Linked DNA regions of Homo sapiens: region 2 is linked to region 1. Evidence: promoter capture Hi-C in human tissues and cell types (Jung and others, 2019). All regions are on one chromosome and are shown on one strand. Each heading gives the region's core, a stretch centred on a gene start or on the middle of the fragment in contact. The rest is flanking DNA. Distances are from core to core; before and after follow the strand shown. Region 1 holds the start of GCM2 (glial cells missing transcription factor 2). Region 2 overlaps LOC105374928 (a long non-coding RNA gene).

Evidence for each region. Contacts are between HindIII fragments. The study calls those that stand out against the background at their distance.
Region 2: a fragment that was not itself captured here is called in contact with the fragment with the promoter of GCM2 in region 1 in 1 of the 25 tissues and cell types used here (dorsolateral prefrontal cortex).

Annotation. Positions count from the first base shown.
Region 1 is chr6:10,880,459-10,887,332 of GRCh38, reverse strand. GCM2 (glial cells missing transcription factor 2) reads left to right here and starts at 5,292. Exons shown (of 5, transcript NM_004752.4): 1 at 5,292-5,629. The coding sequence starts at 5,540. It overlaps SYCP2L (synaptonemal complex protein 2 like), which reads right to left and starts at 281. Exons shown (of 30, transcript NM_001040274.3): 1 at 198-281. The coding sequence starts at 206. RefSeq lists an enhancer at 346-1,114 and a silencer at 5,103-5,397. The HindIII fragment of the contact is 12,545 bases long and covers 1-6,874 here.
Region 2 is chr6:11,449,699-11,456,967 of GRCh38, reverse strand. All of the region lies in intron 1 of LOC105374928 (a long non-coding RNA gene), which reads right to left. Among named protein-coding and RNA genes, the nearest start is that of TMEM170B, 84 kb to the left of the region's middle. The HindIII fragment of the contact is 3,371 bases long and covers 2,311-5,681 here.

The DNA.
Region 1 (6,874 bases), core at 4,043-6,542:
GTTTCTATTCTGCCTGGTCTCCCCGCAGGCTGCCAATACACTCCGAGCAAACCCAAGGAGGTGGCGGGGGACTATGCCCAGCACCCGGTCTCTGAGCGAACACCTCAAGGCGGCAGAACCTGAGCCCCAGGGACCCCGCGCCCTCGCGCGCCCTAGCACTGTGGACAGAAGGTCCGGGCCCTTCGGGGGTCACTCACCGCTTGCATAACGAGGCTTCTTCGTTCCTGAAGCGACGCGCCGCTCAGCTTTGTTGCGCTCGGTCGGCCCTCTCCTGCTTCCCCGCCCAAGAGCCCCGCCCGCTGGGGGCGCTGCCGAAAGAGCCCTGGTGGCGGACCGCTCTTCGAGTCGAGTCTTCTTCCGCAACTGTAATTGACGAATCCGCCCCCTGAAGTTTACTAGAGCTCTGTGTTTTGAGACTCAAGAAGCGCGTGCAAGTAACTAGCGCACACAGGCCAAACCACCTGGGCGCACGCACTCACCCTTTAAGAGAAAGCCAGCACTCAAAGGATGTGAACTACGTCATTTAAACGTTCCTTATTTGCGAAATTCCAAACAGATAGGCGTTCGCTTTGTGGTAGCTGTTCCAAGTTTTTGCCCCGCCTTAAAAAGCCAGAGGGGCGGCCAGGCGCGGTGGCTCACGCCTGTAATCCCAGCACTTTGGGTGGCCGAGGCTGGTGGATCACTTGAGGTCAGGAGTTCAAGACCAGTCTGGTCAACATGGTGAAACCTTGTCTCTACTAAAAATACAAAAAATTAGCCGGGCGCGGTGCACGTGCCTGTAATCCTAGCTGTTGGGGAGGCTGAGGCAGGAGAATCACTTGAACCCGGGAGGCGGAGGTTGCAGTGAGCGGAGATCTCGCCACTGCACTCCAGCCTGGGGGACAGAGTGAGACTCCGTCTCAAAAAAAAAACAGCCAGAGGAGCAGTTTTTGGTCCATTGATGTGTGCAGACAGAAGCCGAACCCTTTCCTATGGTAACCAGACTTGTACCCGATATTATTAATACATTCCTGATTTCACACACACACAAAGTGTGTTTGGTGGTTGTTTTTTAAGTACCGTGGTGGGGAGGAAGGGGAATTTTTTTTTTTAATCAAAGCAAATAGTTTTGTTTTTGTTTTTGTTTTTTTGTTTCTTTGTTTGCCTATTTCCTTTAACCTGACAAGTATGCGTACCAATGGCTAGGCTGATTCGGATAGGTGGCCAGTTGTGTGAACACGGTGGCAAAATTAAATTGGACTAGAGTTTTCCACAAAAAACAAAAAAAAGACCCCTCCAATCCAAACATCCTTTGTGTAAAAATCAACTTGTATTATAACTAGACCTGTGAGTATTTCAAGTCATAATATGTACGGAAGATATTTGTCTACACCAAAGCAAAACATAACAAAACCAGAACCCCTGTTAGCCCAGGACTTGCACACATTTCTAGTCCGTTCAAAACAATGTTTATGTCAAAGCCTGTCATATCAATTTCCTGGAAAGTATAATGTAAACATTCTTACATTAATTTACCTATTTTAATCTAAACCAAGGAAATTCAAACGCAAGTTTTTTTCCTTTTCAATGAATGGACTTTTGTAATATTAAACTAGTAATCAAGACAGGAACAGCTGTGAGTATAAGCTATTGTGAGTCAATACAAATATAATACCAGGGCAAGAAAGAAACAATGAATAATAAGAAGCAATAAACAAAATACTACAGTTTAAATGAATTTTAAGAGAATATTTAAAAATTAGAGTTTTCATAATATTAGATAGAAAACTTAATCATCTATTATTTTCAGGCTTTGGGGGAAAACATGTCCTTCCAAAGTCTATGGTGCAATGCATTCAAATCTTTAAGAGAAATTAAAAATAACAGAATAGGCAAAATACCTTTTATCTGGTTTTTTTTTTACTTTGATTAGCTTCTTTTACTAACATGTTTTGTCTTAATATAATTTATGGCAACTTGAAATGCATACTCTAATTCTTCTCAAACTAAATATAGTAGAGGCTCTATGACATTTCTTTGGATACCAGAATCCCTTTAGAAATTAATTGATTTGCCTTTTACATAAAAAAGTTTTATTTATTTATGTTTTTGACGGGTCAGGTCTCTCTAGGAACATTCCAAAAGCACAGAGACAAGAACTATTCTAGCACTGCAATAAGACCAAAAATTAATTTCTATGCATTTTCAGAGGTAACTTTAAATCACCATTTTAAAGTTATTTTTAGAACATTTGAAAGGATAAGTTATCTTAGACTACAACATTTAATGAAATACTATAATTAAAATGGATAATCAATAAATTTTCATTCAATTTTGGAAGACAAAACAACACGAAAAGCAACTGAATCAACAGGAGTTTCGGGGACCTTTGGCAGACAGTTAATAAGATGAAAAATCTGTGAATGAAACTCGTGGGTGAAGAGTAGACAGATCTCTTCGTTCCCAGCTAGACCTCAGTGGCGACCATTTGAGAGTGATTTTAATCAGAAACCTTGACTGACAGGACCTTTTAGGAGGGGAGAACTTCGGGAGAAAGGAGGCTGGGAATGAACAAATCACTTTCTTCTGCTAGGACCCTTCGGCTTTGACTGGGAGGAGGACCCCAGCTAGAAGATAAAGGAGGAAAAAATCGCGAGGAACTGCTCGAAGTTGGCCTTTCTTCCCAACAGAGTTCGCTGGTCCGCTGCCACTGGCAGGCTTCTCTGACCGACTGGGATACTTTTTCTTTCTTCTTTCCTTTTCTTTTTTTTTTCTTTTTCTTTTCTTTCTCCTTCCTTGCTTCCTTCCTCTCTCTCTCTCTCTTTCTTTCTGTCTTTCTTTCCTTCCTTTTTTTTTTTTTTTTTTTTGAGACAGGGTCTCGTTCTGTCGCCCAGGCTCGGCGCTATCTCAGGTTACTGCAACCACTGCCTCCTGGATTCAAGCGATCCTCCCGCCTCAGCCTCCCAAGTAGCTGGGACTACAGGCACACGCCACCATGCCCGGCTTTTTTTTTTTTTTTTTTTTTCGAAGAGACAGGGTTTCGCCATGTTGCCCAGTCTGGTCTTGCACTCCTGGGCTCAAGCGATCCTCCCGTCTCGGCCTCCCAAAGTGCTGGGATTACAGGCATGAGCCACTGCGCCCAATCGCGGGATGGACTTTTCTAAGCAAGCCTCACTGTGCCTTTGGCGCGGGAAGTAAAAGGACAGGGAGCGTGGACCACCCTTAGCTTCCTGATGTGGTTTCGCTCTTCCTTTATCCGCCTTTTGCCAACCGAAGGCACTAATCCTGCAAGAGGCGTTGGCATGGGCGCCCTCCTGGCCGAGTCCCGGGCAGCACCCGTCCGTGCGCTCAGCACGGGCTTTGCGGTGCCAAGGCCTAGGGTGCGTCGCTTCCCGGGTCTGGAGGGTCATGGATTCGGTTCATCCTCCTCTATCAAGGGATCTGCCGTGAGGAGTTGGCTCCTCTTCTCTGGCTGGGGCTGGGAATGGAAGCGTGCAGCTGCAAAACAAGGACGCGGGCAATAAATTCCAGAAGCCCTTTCCCCTGGCCGCCAAGAATCCGGCCTTGGGGTAGTCAAAGAGTGACTTTAGTCACTTCAATCGGTTTTGTTTTGTTTTGTTTGTTTTTTGTTTTTTGTTTTTTTTATATATATATATACTGAGGGTCTCCATGTGCCGGAGTAGCCCTGGGCGAGTCGGCTGCTCAGATGATGAAGGTTTCGTCCCAGCCCCGGAGAACCCACATTGTCCTGCGCACCTCCGCACCACCGCGATTCTCTAGTCCTCCAAAGCCTCCCAAGACTGTAATGGAGTAAATTCAATTTCGTCGTGATATTTCCAAGACTATATCAGTGAAGTTTTTTTTTAAGAGTTGTGGGCCGGGCGCGGTGGCTCACGCCTTTAATCCCAGCACTTTGAGAGGCCGAGACAGGAGGATCACGAAGTCAAAAAATCGAGACCATCCTGGCCAACTTGGTAAAACCCTGTCTCTACTAACAATACAAAATTAGCTGGTCGCGATGGCGCGCCTGTAGTTCCAGCTACTCGGGAGGCTGAGGCAGGAGAATCGTTTGAACCTGGGAGGCGGAGGTTGCAGTGAGCCGAGATTGCGCCACTGCACTCCAGCCGGGAAGACAGAGTGAGACTCCGTCTCAAAAAAAAAAAAAAAAAAAAAGATTTGTGTTCGGGTGGGTGGCAACTGAGAGCTCGCCGAACCACAACCTCTTATTTAACAGATAAACAGATAAGGAAGCTGAGACCCAGAGGGAGCCAAAGCAGTGGAGAAAGCGAGTTCTTTGGGACTTTTCCCCTCTCCCCTTTCCCTCCTTCCCCAGGCTCCCACCTACCCCAGGCTCCCACCTACCCCGGGCTCATTTCCGCCCCCCACCTCCTCCAGGTTCACTTTGTAGGACTCCGTTCCTGCAGGGCCAGGTCCCTCCGAAGTCCCCGGGAGCGTGAAGGCGCCTGGGCTCGCGAGCATACGCGGAGGCTTGGCGCACCCTGGCACGTCCCAAACAGCAGAGCCAAGACTGCGAGACACTCACAATAGTTAGGGGAAGAGCCGGCAGTGGAGGCCCAAAATGGGCTGACCCCTAACTAGGAGGCGTGGGCGCGGTTATTCAGGCTAGGGCGCACGCGGACGGCAGAGGGGCCCACGCACGGTTCCCATGCTCTCCTGGAATTGAGTGTTGGCTCTCAGGGGACTTTGCTGGAAAGCCTCCATCTAAGCCCCTTTCCGAAATCAGGGAAGCTGGACGCGTTTAGAAAAAAGAAAAAAAATAGGCCGGTCGCGGTTGCTCACGCCTGTAATCCCAGCACTTTGGGAGGCCCAGGCGGGCAGATCGTCAGGAGTTCAAGACCAGCTTGGTCAGGGTTTCGCATGGCTAAAACCTGTCTCTACTAAAAATACAAAAATTAGCCAGGGTGGTGGCACGGACCTGTATTCCCAGCTACTCGGGAGGTTGAGGCAGGAGAATCGCTTGAACCTGGGAGGCAGAGGTTGCAGTTAGCTGAGATGGCGCCACTGCACTCTAGCCTGGGCAACAGAGTGAGACAAAAAAGAAGAAAAGAAAAGAAGAAAATAATAAGGTTTTAAACTTAAAGGATACATTCCTACTTACCCTCTCCACCCCCACCCTCTGGCTGCAGTTTCCATTTGCTTCCAGGGCTGAGTTTAACCTCCACCTCCGTTCCTGGGACTGTGGTGGAGGGGGCGACCGGCCCCTGGAGCGTGGGCGCTAGCGAGGTAGGCGAGACAGGGCGGAGCCCCCCGGAGGTATATCTTTATAAAGGAGGGGGCAGCTGCCAGAGGTCGATGCTGCCGTTCGGGTGGAGAACGTTCAGCACCGCGGCCAAGGACAAGGCCCCGCCCGGGTCCATAACCATTGTCCCCAGCTTCCAGATATCTAAACAGCCTCTCTCTCTTTCTCTCTCTCTGCACCTCCCCTTCACACACCCCACTTTCTTCTTTAAAGAGAAGAAAAAAAACCCACCTGGCGCACCTGTCCTTTTTTCTTCTATTTTTCAGAACCCTGGGCGGAAAGCGCGAGCGAGTTGGGCAGATGCCGGCGGCCGCGGTGCAGGAAGCGGTCGGCGTGTGCTCCTACGGGATGCAGCTCAGCTGGGACATCAACGATCCGCAGATGCCTCAGGTAAGTGAACCGGGTGTGTGCGGGCACGCGGGGCGCTGTCCATCCGAAGGAGGGAGAATGGCATTCGAGTTCTTGAAGAGTCTGCGGACGGACCATACACACACACACACACACACACACACACACACACACACACACACACACACACATACCCGCAAAATTTCTGGGTTTCTGAGGCCCTCTCAAGTGTAGAAAGAAAACTGGACTCTACAAAAGGCTGAGTTGGGTTTAGAAATGTGTCTTCTTGGCCGGGCGCTGTGGTTCATACCTGTAATCCCAGCACTTTGGGAGGCTGAGGCGGGTGGATCATCTGAGGTCGGGAGTTCAAGACCAGCCTGACCAACATGGAGAAACCCCGTCTCTACCAAAAATACAAAATCAGCCCAGCGTGGTGGCGCATGCCTAAAGTCGCAGCTACTCGGGAGGCTGAGGCAGGAGAATCGCTTGAACCCGAGAGGCAGAGGTTGCGGTGAGCCAAGATCACGCCATTGAACTCCAGCCTGGGCAACAAGAGCAAAACTCCATCTCAAAAAAAGAAGAAGAAGAAGAAGAAGAAATGTGTCTTCTCCCAGCAATTTCCTTGTGCTTGCCTGAAATCACAAGCAAAGCAGCAGGAAATGTTGGTCAGGCTCCACATTCCCAGTCTTGGGGAGAGCGGGACGCCTGTCCTTTCACTTCCCTTTAACCAAGGTAGAAATTAGGTGCCTCTCTCCTTATTCATTTACTTTAAATCCATGAGGAAGCTAAGGAGAAAATCTAAGCAGATGTAAATACCACTGCTTCTCATGCAGCAAAACTGAGGTACAACTGTAAAGTGAATCTAATGACCTAAATTTAAAACAAGTAGCCCGACTTGAGCAATTTGCTCAGACCTCCCTAACTGCTCAGAGGAAGGAGGCCCCATAGTCATGCCAACAAGGCCACCTGTACCCAAAACTTACTTCTTCTCTAATGACAAGCAAATCATCATTCTTTTAGGGTGAATTTGTTGTATTTTGCTTTATTTCAATAAAGCAAAAATGGTTTGGAGCCAAGTCCAAAGAATGACTGGGGTGGATGAAGTGGTGAATGAAGTGGGTGGTTTGAAGCCAGTTCCAGAGAATGACCAATTATCATTAGTCACACTGGTTAGGGCCAAAATTGAGTGATGTTGAAGTCCTGGCTGTAGGGGGTGGGGGGTGTAGAATGAGAGTTGCTTCCCTGCCATTTGCAGATGTGGGCTTCCAGCAATGTTGTGGCACAGGG
Region 2 (7,269 bases), core at 2,747-5,246, 570 kb before region 1:
TTTAATTAGATCCCATTTGTCTATTTTGGCTTTTGTTGCCATTGCTTTTGGTGTTTCAGTCATGAAGTCTTTGCCCATGCCTATGTCCTGAATGGTATTGCCTAGGTTTTCTTCTAGGGTTTTTATGGTTTTAGGTCTAACATTTAAGTCTTTAATCCATCTTGAATTAATTTTTGTATAAGGTGTAAAGAAGGGATCCAGTTTCAGCTTTCTACATATGGCTAACCAGTTTTCCCAGCACCATTTATTAAATAGGCAATCCTTTCCCCATTGCTTGTTTTTGTCAGGTTTGTCAAAGATCAGATGGTTGTAGATGTGTGGTGTTATTTCTGAGGTCTCTGTTCTGTTCCATTGGTCTATACATCTGTTTTGGTACCAGTACCATGCTGTTTTGGTTACTGTAGCCTTGTAGTATAGTTTGAAGTCAGGTAGTGTGATGCCTCCAGCTTTGTCCTTTTTGCTTAGGATTGTCTTGGCAATGTGGGCTCCTTTTTGGTTTCATATGAACTTTAAAGTCGTTGTTTCCAATTCTGTGAAGAAAGTAAGTCATTGGTAGCTTGATGGGGATGGCATTGAATCTATAAATTACCTTGGGCAGTATGGCCATTTTCATGATATTGATTCTTCCTATCCATGAGCATAGAATGTTCTTTCATTTGATTGCGTCCTCCTTTATTTTGTTGAGCAGTGGTTTGTAGTTCTCCTTGAAGAGGTCCTTCACATCCCTTGCAAGTTGGATTCCATGGTATTTTATTCTCTTTGTAACAATTGTGAATGGGAGTTCACTAGTGATTTGACTCTCTGTTATTGGTGTATAGGAATGCTTGTGATTTTTGCACATTGATTTTGTACCTGAGACTTTGCTGAAGTTGCTTATCAGCTTAAGGAGATTTTGGGCTGAGATGATGGGGTTTTCTATATATACAATCATGTCATCTGCAAACAGGGACAATTTGACTTCCTCTTTTCCTAAAGAAGTACCCTTTATTTCTTTCTCTTGCCTGATTGCCCTGGCCAGAACTTCCAACACTATGTAGGAGTGGTGAGAGAAGGCATCCTTGTCTTGTGCCAGTTTTCAAAGGGAATGCTTCCAGTTTTTGTCCATTCAGTATGATATTGGCTGTGGGTTTGTCATAAATAGCTCCTATTGTTTTGAGATATGTTCCATCAATACCTAGTTTATTGAGAGTTTTTAGCTGAAGTGCTGTTAAATTTTGCCAAAAGCCTTTTCGGCATCTATTGAGATAGTCATGTAGTTTTTGTCTTGGTTCTGTTTATGTGATGGATTATGTTTACTGATTTGCATATGTTGAACCAGCCTTGCATCCCAGGGATGAATCCAACTTGATTTTGTTGGATAAGCTTTTTGATGTGCTGCTGGATTCAGTTTGCCAGTATTTTTTTGAGGATTTTCACATCTATATTCATCAGGGATAGTAGTCTAAAATTCTCTTTTTTTGTTGTGTCTCTGCCAGGCTTTGGTATCAGGATGACGCTGGCCTCATAAAATGAGTTAGGTAGGATTCCCTCTTTTTCTATTGACTGGATTAGTTTCAGAAGGAATGGTACCAGCTCCTCTTTCTACCTCTGGTAGAATTTGGCTGTGAATCCATCTGGTCCTGGACTTTTTTTGGTGGTAGGCTATTAATTATTGCCTCAATTTCAGAGCCTGTTATTGGTCTATTCAGAGATTCAACTTCTTCCTGGTTTAGTCTTGGGAGGGTGTATGTGTCGAGGAATTTATCCATTTCTTCTAGATTTTCTAGTTTATTTGCAGAGAGGTGTTTATAGTATTCTCTGATGGTAGTTTGTATTTCTGTGGGATTGGTGGTGATATCCCCTTTATCATTTTTTATTGCATCTATTTGATTCTTCTCTCTTTTCTTCTTTATTCATCTTGCTAGCGGTCTATCTATTTTGTTAATCTTTTCAAAAAACCAGCTCCTGGATTCATTGATTTTTTTGAAGGATTTTTTGTGTCTCTATCTCCTTCAGTTCTGCTCTGATCTTAGTTATTTCTTGCCTTCTGCTAGCTTTTGAATGTGTTTGCTCTTGCTTCTCTAGTTCCTTTAATTGTGATGTTAGGGTGTCAATTTTAGATCTTTCCTGCTTTCTCTTGTGGGCATTTAGTGCTATAAATTTCCCTCTACACACTGCTCTAAATGTGTCCCAGAGATTCTGGTATGTTGTGTCTTTGTTCTCATTAGTTTCAAAGAACATCTTTATGTCTGACTTCATTTCGTTATGTACCCAGTAGTCATTCAGGAGCAGTTGTTCACTTTCCATGTAGTTGTGTGGTTTTGAGTGGGTTTATTAATCTTGAGTTCTAATTTGATTGCACTGTAGTCTGAGAGAGAGTTTGTTGTGATTTCTGTTCTTTTACATTTGCTGAGGAGTGCTTTACTTCCAACTATGTGGTCAATTTTAGAATAAGTGCGATGTGGTGCTGAGAAGAATGTATATTCTGTTGATTTGGGGTGGAGAGTTGTGTAGATGTCTATTAGGTCTACTTGGTGCAGAGCTGAGTTCACCTGGATATCCTTGTTAACCTTCTGTCTCATTGATCTGTCTAATATTGACAGTGGGGTGTTAAAGTCTCCCATTATTATTGTGTGGGAGTCTAAGTGTCTTTCTAGGTCTCTAAGGACTTGTTTTATGAATCTGGGTGCTCCTGTATTGGGTGCATATACACTTAGGATAGTTAGCTCTTCTTGGTGAATTGATCCTTTTACCATTATGTAATGGCCTTCTTTGTCTCTTTTGATCTTTGTTGGTTTAAAGTCTGTTTTATCAGAGACTAGGATTACAACCCCTGCTTTTTTTTTTTTTTTTTTTTGCTTTCCATTTGCTTGGTAGATCTTCCTCCATCCCTTTATTTTGAGACTGTGTGTGTCTCTACAGGTCAGATGGGTCTCCTGAATACAGCACACTGATGGGCCTTGACTCTTTATCCAATTTGACGGTATGTGTCTTTTAATTGGGGCATGTAGCCCATTTACATTTAAGGTTAATATTGTTTGTGAATTTGATCCTGTCATTATGATGTTAGCTGTTTATTTTGCCCATTAGTTGACGCAGTTTCTTCCTAGCATCAATGGTCTTTATAATTTGGCATGTTTTTGCAGTGGCTGGTACCAGTTGTTCCTTTCCATGTTTAGTGCTTCCTTCAGGAGCTCCTGTAAGGCAGGCCTGGTGGTGACAAAATCTCTCAGCATTTGCTTGTCTGTAAAGGATTTTATTTCTCCTTCACTTATGAAGCTTAGTTTGGCTGGATATGAAATTCTGGGTTGAAAATTCTTTTCTTTAAGAATGTTGAATCTTGGCCCCCACTCTCTTCTGGCTTGTAGACTTTCTTCCGAGAGATCCACTGTTAGTCTGATGGGCTTTCCTTTGTGGGTAACCCGACCTTTCTCTCTGGCTGCCCTTAACATTTTTCCTTCATTTCAACCTTAGTGAATCTGACAATTATGTGTCTTGGTGTTGCTCTTCTCAAGGAGTATCTTTGTGCTGTTCTTTGTATTTCCTGAATTTGAATGTTGGCCTGCCTTGCTAGGTTGAGGAAGTTTTCCAGGATAATATCCTGAAGAGTGTTTTCCAACTTGGTTCCATTCTCCCCGTCACTTTCAGGTACACCAATCAAAAGTAGATTTGGTCTTTTCACATAGTCTCATATTTCCTGGAGGCTTTGTTCATTTCCTTTTACTTTTTTTCTCTAAACTTCTCTTGTTGCTTTATTTCATTAATTTGATCTTCTATCACTGATACCCTTTCTTCTGCTTGTTCAAATCGGCTATTGAAGCTTGTACATGCATCACGTAGTTCTCGTGCCGTGGTTTTCAGCTCCATCAGGTCATTTAAGGTCTTCTCTACACTGTTTATTCTAGTTAGCCATTTGTCTAATCTTTTTTCAAGGTTTTTAGCTTCCTTGCAATGGGTTTGAACATCCTCCTTTAGCTCGGAGAAGTTTGTTATTACCAACCTTCTGAAGCCGACTTCTGTCAGCTCATCAAAGTCATTCTCCGTCCAGCTTTGTTCCATTGCTGGCAAGGAGCTGTGATCCTTTGGAGGAGAAGAGGCTCTCTGGCTTTTACAATTTTCAGCTTTTCTGCTCTGGTTTATCCCCATCTTTGTGGTTTTATCTACCTTTGGTCTTTGATGTTGGTGACCTACAGATGGGGTTTTGGTGTGGATGTCCTTTTTGTTGATGTTGATGCTATTCCTTTCTGTTTGTTAGTTTTCCTTGTAACAGTCAGGTCCCTCAACTGCAGGTCTGTTGGAGTTTGCTGGAGGTCCACCCCAGACCCTGGTTGCCTGGGTATCACCAGCGGAGACTGAAGAACAGCAAATATTGCAGAATAGCAAATATTGCTGCCTCATCCTTCCCCCGGAAGCTTTGTCCCAGAGGGGCACCCTCATGTATGAGGTATCAGTTGGCCCCTACGGGAAGATGTCTCCCAGTTAAGCTACATGGGGGTCAGGGACCCACTTGAGGAGGCAGTCTGTCCGTTCTCTGAGCTCAAACACTGTGCTGGGAGAACCACTGTTCTCTTCAGAGCTGTCAGACTGGGATGTTTAAGTCTGCAGAAGTTTCTGCTGCTTTTTGTTCAGCTATGCCCCGCCCCCAGAGGTGGAGACTACGGAGGCAGCTGGCCTTGCTAAGCTGCAGTGGGCTCCGCCCAGTTTGAACTTCTCCGGCCACTTTTTTTTACCTACTCAAGCCTCAGTAATGGCAGATGCCCCTCTCCCTGCCAGGCTGCTGCCTCGCAGGTCAATCTCAGACTGCTGCGCTAGCAGTAAGCAAGGCTCTGTGGGCTTGGGATCCTCCGAGCCAGGTGCAGGATATAATCTGGTGTGCCATTTGCTAAGACCGTTAGAAAAGCACAGTATTTGGGTGGGAATGTCCCAGTTTTCCAGGTGCTATGTGGAAAACTTCCCTTGGCCAGGAAAAGGAAATCCCCCAACCCCTTGGGCTTCCCGGGTGAGGCGATGCCCTGCCCTGCTTCAGCTCACCCTCCGTGGGCTGCATCCACTGTCCAGCAAATCCCAATGAGATGAACCAGGTACCTCAGTTGGAAATGCAGAAATCACCCGTCTTCTGCATCGATCATGCTGGGAGCTGCATACTGGAGCTGTTCCTATTCAGCCATCTTGGAACAGAATCTCCTGAATATATAGTCTTTTGATACCTCTTGTCTTTCCCTTTATCTCTCCTCTGTCTCCCTTCTCCTTCCCTTTAGCTTCCAGGAGCAAAAGAAGTTTTCTATCTATTAAGTCTCTCCTGAGTCCACTGAACATAGCATTTTCTGTGTATTTCATCACACTACAAATTATCTGCCTCATTAAGAATAAAGTCGAATTGCAATTCAGCATTTGCTGAAGTCATCTCTCCATTTTCTGCTCTGGCCAGAGCATTCAGAAAGACATTTAAGGCTTTAAGTCACCTATTTATTTATAGCATGGTTGATAGACTCATGGATATTATAATGAAAAGCTCTGCTAAATTTGACAATTTGCTACTTACTATATCCTACAGTTTAGGTTAAAAAAAATAGTTTGGGCCAGACATGGCGGCTCACATCTGTAATCCCAGCACTTTGGGAGGCCAAGGCGGGTGGATAACCTGAGGTCAGGAGTTCGAGACCAACCTGGCCAACACGGTGAAACCCGTCTCTACTAAAAATACAAAATTAGCCACGCAAGGTGGCAGATGCCTGTAATCCCAGCTACTTGGGAGGCTGAGGCATGAGAATCACTCGAACCTGGGACGTGGAGGTTGCGCCGTTGCTCTCCAGAGCGACAACAAGAGCAAAACTCTGTCTCAAAAAATCAAATCAAATGTAAAAAAAAAATAGTTTGGAACATCAGCTTGGTTGGAGGGAAGAGTCTTCTTTTCCTCAAAGAAATAAATGATTCCCTCTTCACCTGAGGTATGTGTAGGAGACAACTTGTAGAGAGTTGGAGGCAAGAGTGCTGGCAGGCAGGCTAGTGTCACCTAACCCGCTGCAATTGACTCACTTCTGAGACTGCAGTTAGGAAGTATGCAAAACGTCATGAACCTTGGGGATGAAAATAAATCTGAGACTATCAAAGATCTAATTTATGTCAAAAACTAAATGGATTCTGGACCAGTGCTGTCTAATAGAAATGTAATGTGAGCCACAAAACCAAGTCACTGTGCAATTTTAAATGTAGTAGCTCCATTTGAAAACTAAAAAGAAGCGTTACAACTCTTTTAGAATTCAGAATTCTAAATTCTAAAGGACTAGTGTTAGAATTTCTAACAGGTTTTTTGGTTTTCACTGAAAAAAAACCCCACAGGAAAATCAAAGTAAAAATAAACAGTTAAAACTATAATAGCATATTATTTAACCCAATATGTACAAAATGTTATATTTTTTAATATTTGGCTTTCTTATTTTTCATTAGTCTTCAAAATCAACTGGGACTTTTACATGTACAGCACGTTTTAAATGACCCAAAGCCACCCCGCTGGTCAGCTCAGGTCTAGACAATCTATTAAATGAACCAAATTGCCTTTAAAATCTTTGCAGGATTTTTAATAGCTGGATCAAAAGCACTAGCTGAAATCATGAAGCTAAAACTGCATTTTTATCATAATGAGGTCTGACCTCTTTCATTTATAATTAGAACTCCAACCACCTAACAGGCTTTCCCTGAGGATTATTTTGTCACCCAATTCCATTTCACAGGCTCATTCATCTAAACTCATGTGACGAGCAGCATCACGTTCCCTCACACCACCCTCAAGCACCACACACAAACACACACACACTCCCCAGCCCTCTGCAGCATCCCATCCTCTAGGCCTTGGGAATTGCTTTAAAAATTATGAAACTACTTTAATTCTGATTCACTTTTGCAGCAAAACTCTTAGGTCAAAGCCTGATCTAGGTATTTGTGTGACCACAGGGAGGACCCCAAAAAGTGAATGGCTCTATAGTTTGCAAAAGCTTTACAGTTGCTCCCCTGTATTCATGAGTTTCACATCCATGAATTCAACCAAGCACGTATTAAAAATATTTTTAAAAAATGAATATTTTTGTCTGCACTGAAAATATACAGACATTTTTTCTTGTCAATATTCCCTAAACAATAGAGTATAACTATGTAGATAGCATTTACATTGTATTAGATATTATAAGTAATCTAGAGATGATTTAAAACATACAAGAGGATGTGCATAGGTTATATGTAAATACTACACTGTGTTATACAAAGGACTTGAGTATGTGTGGATTTTGGTATCCA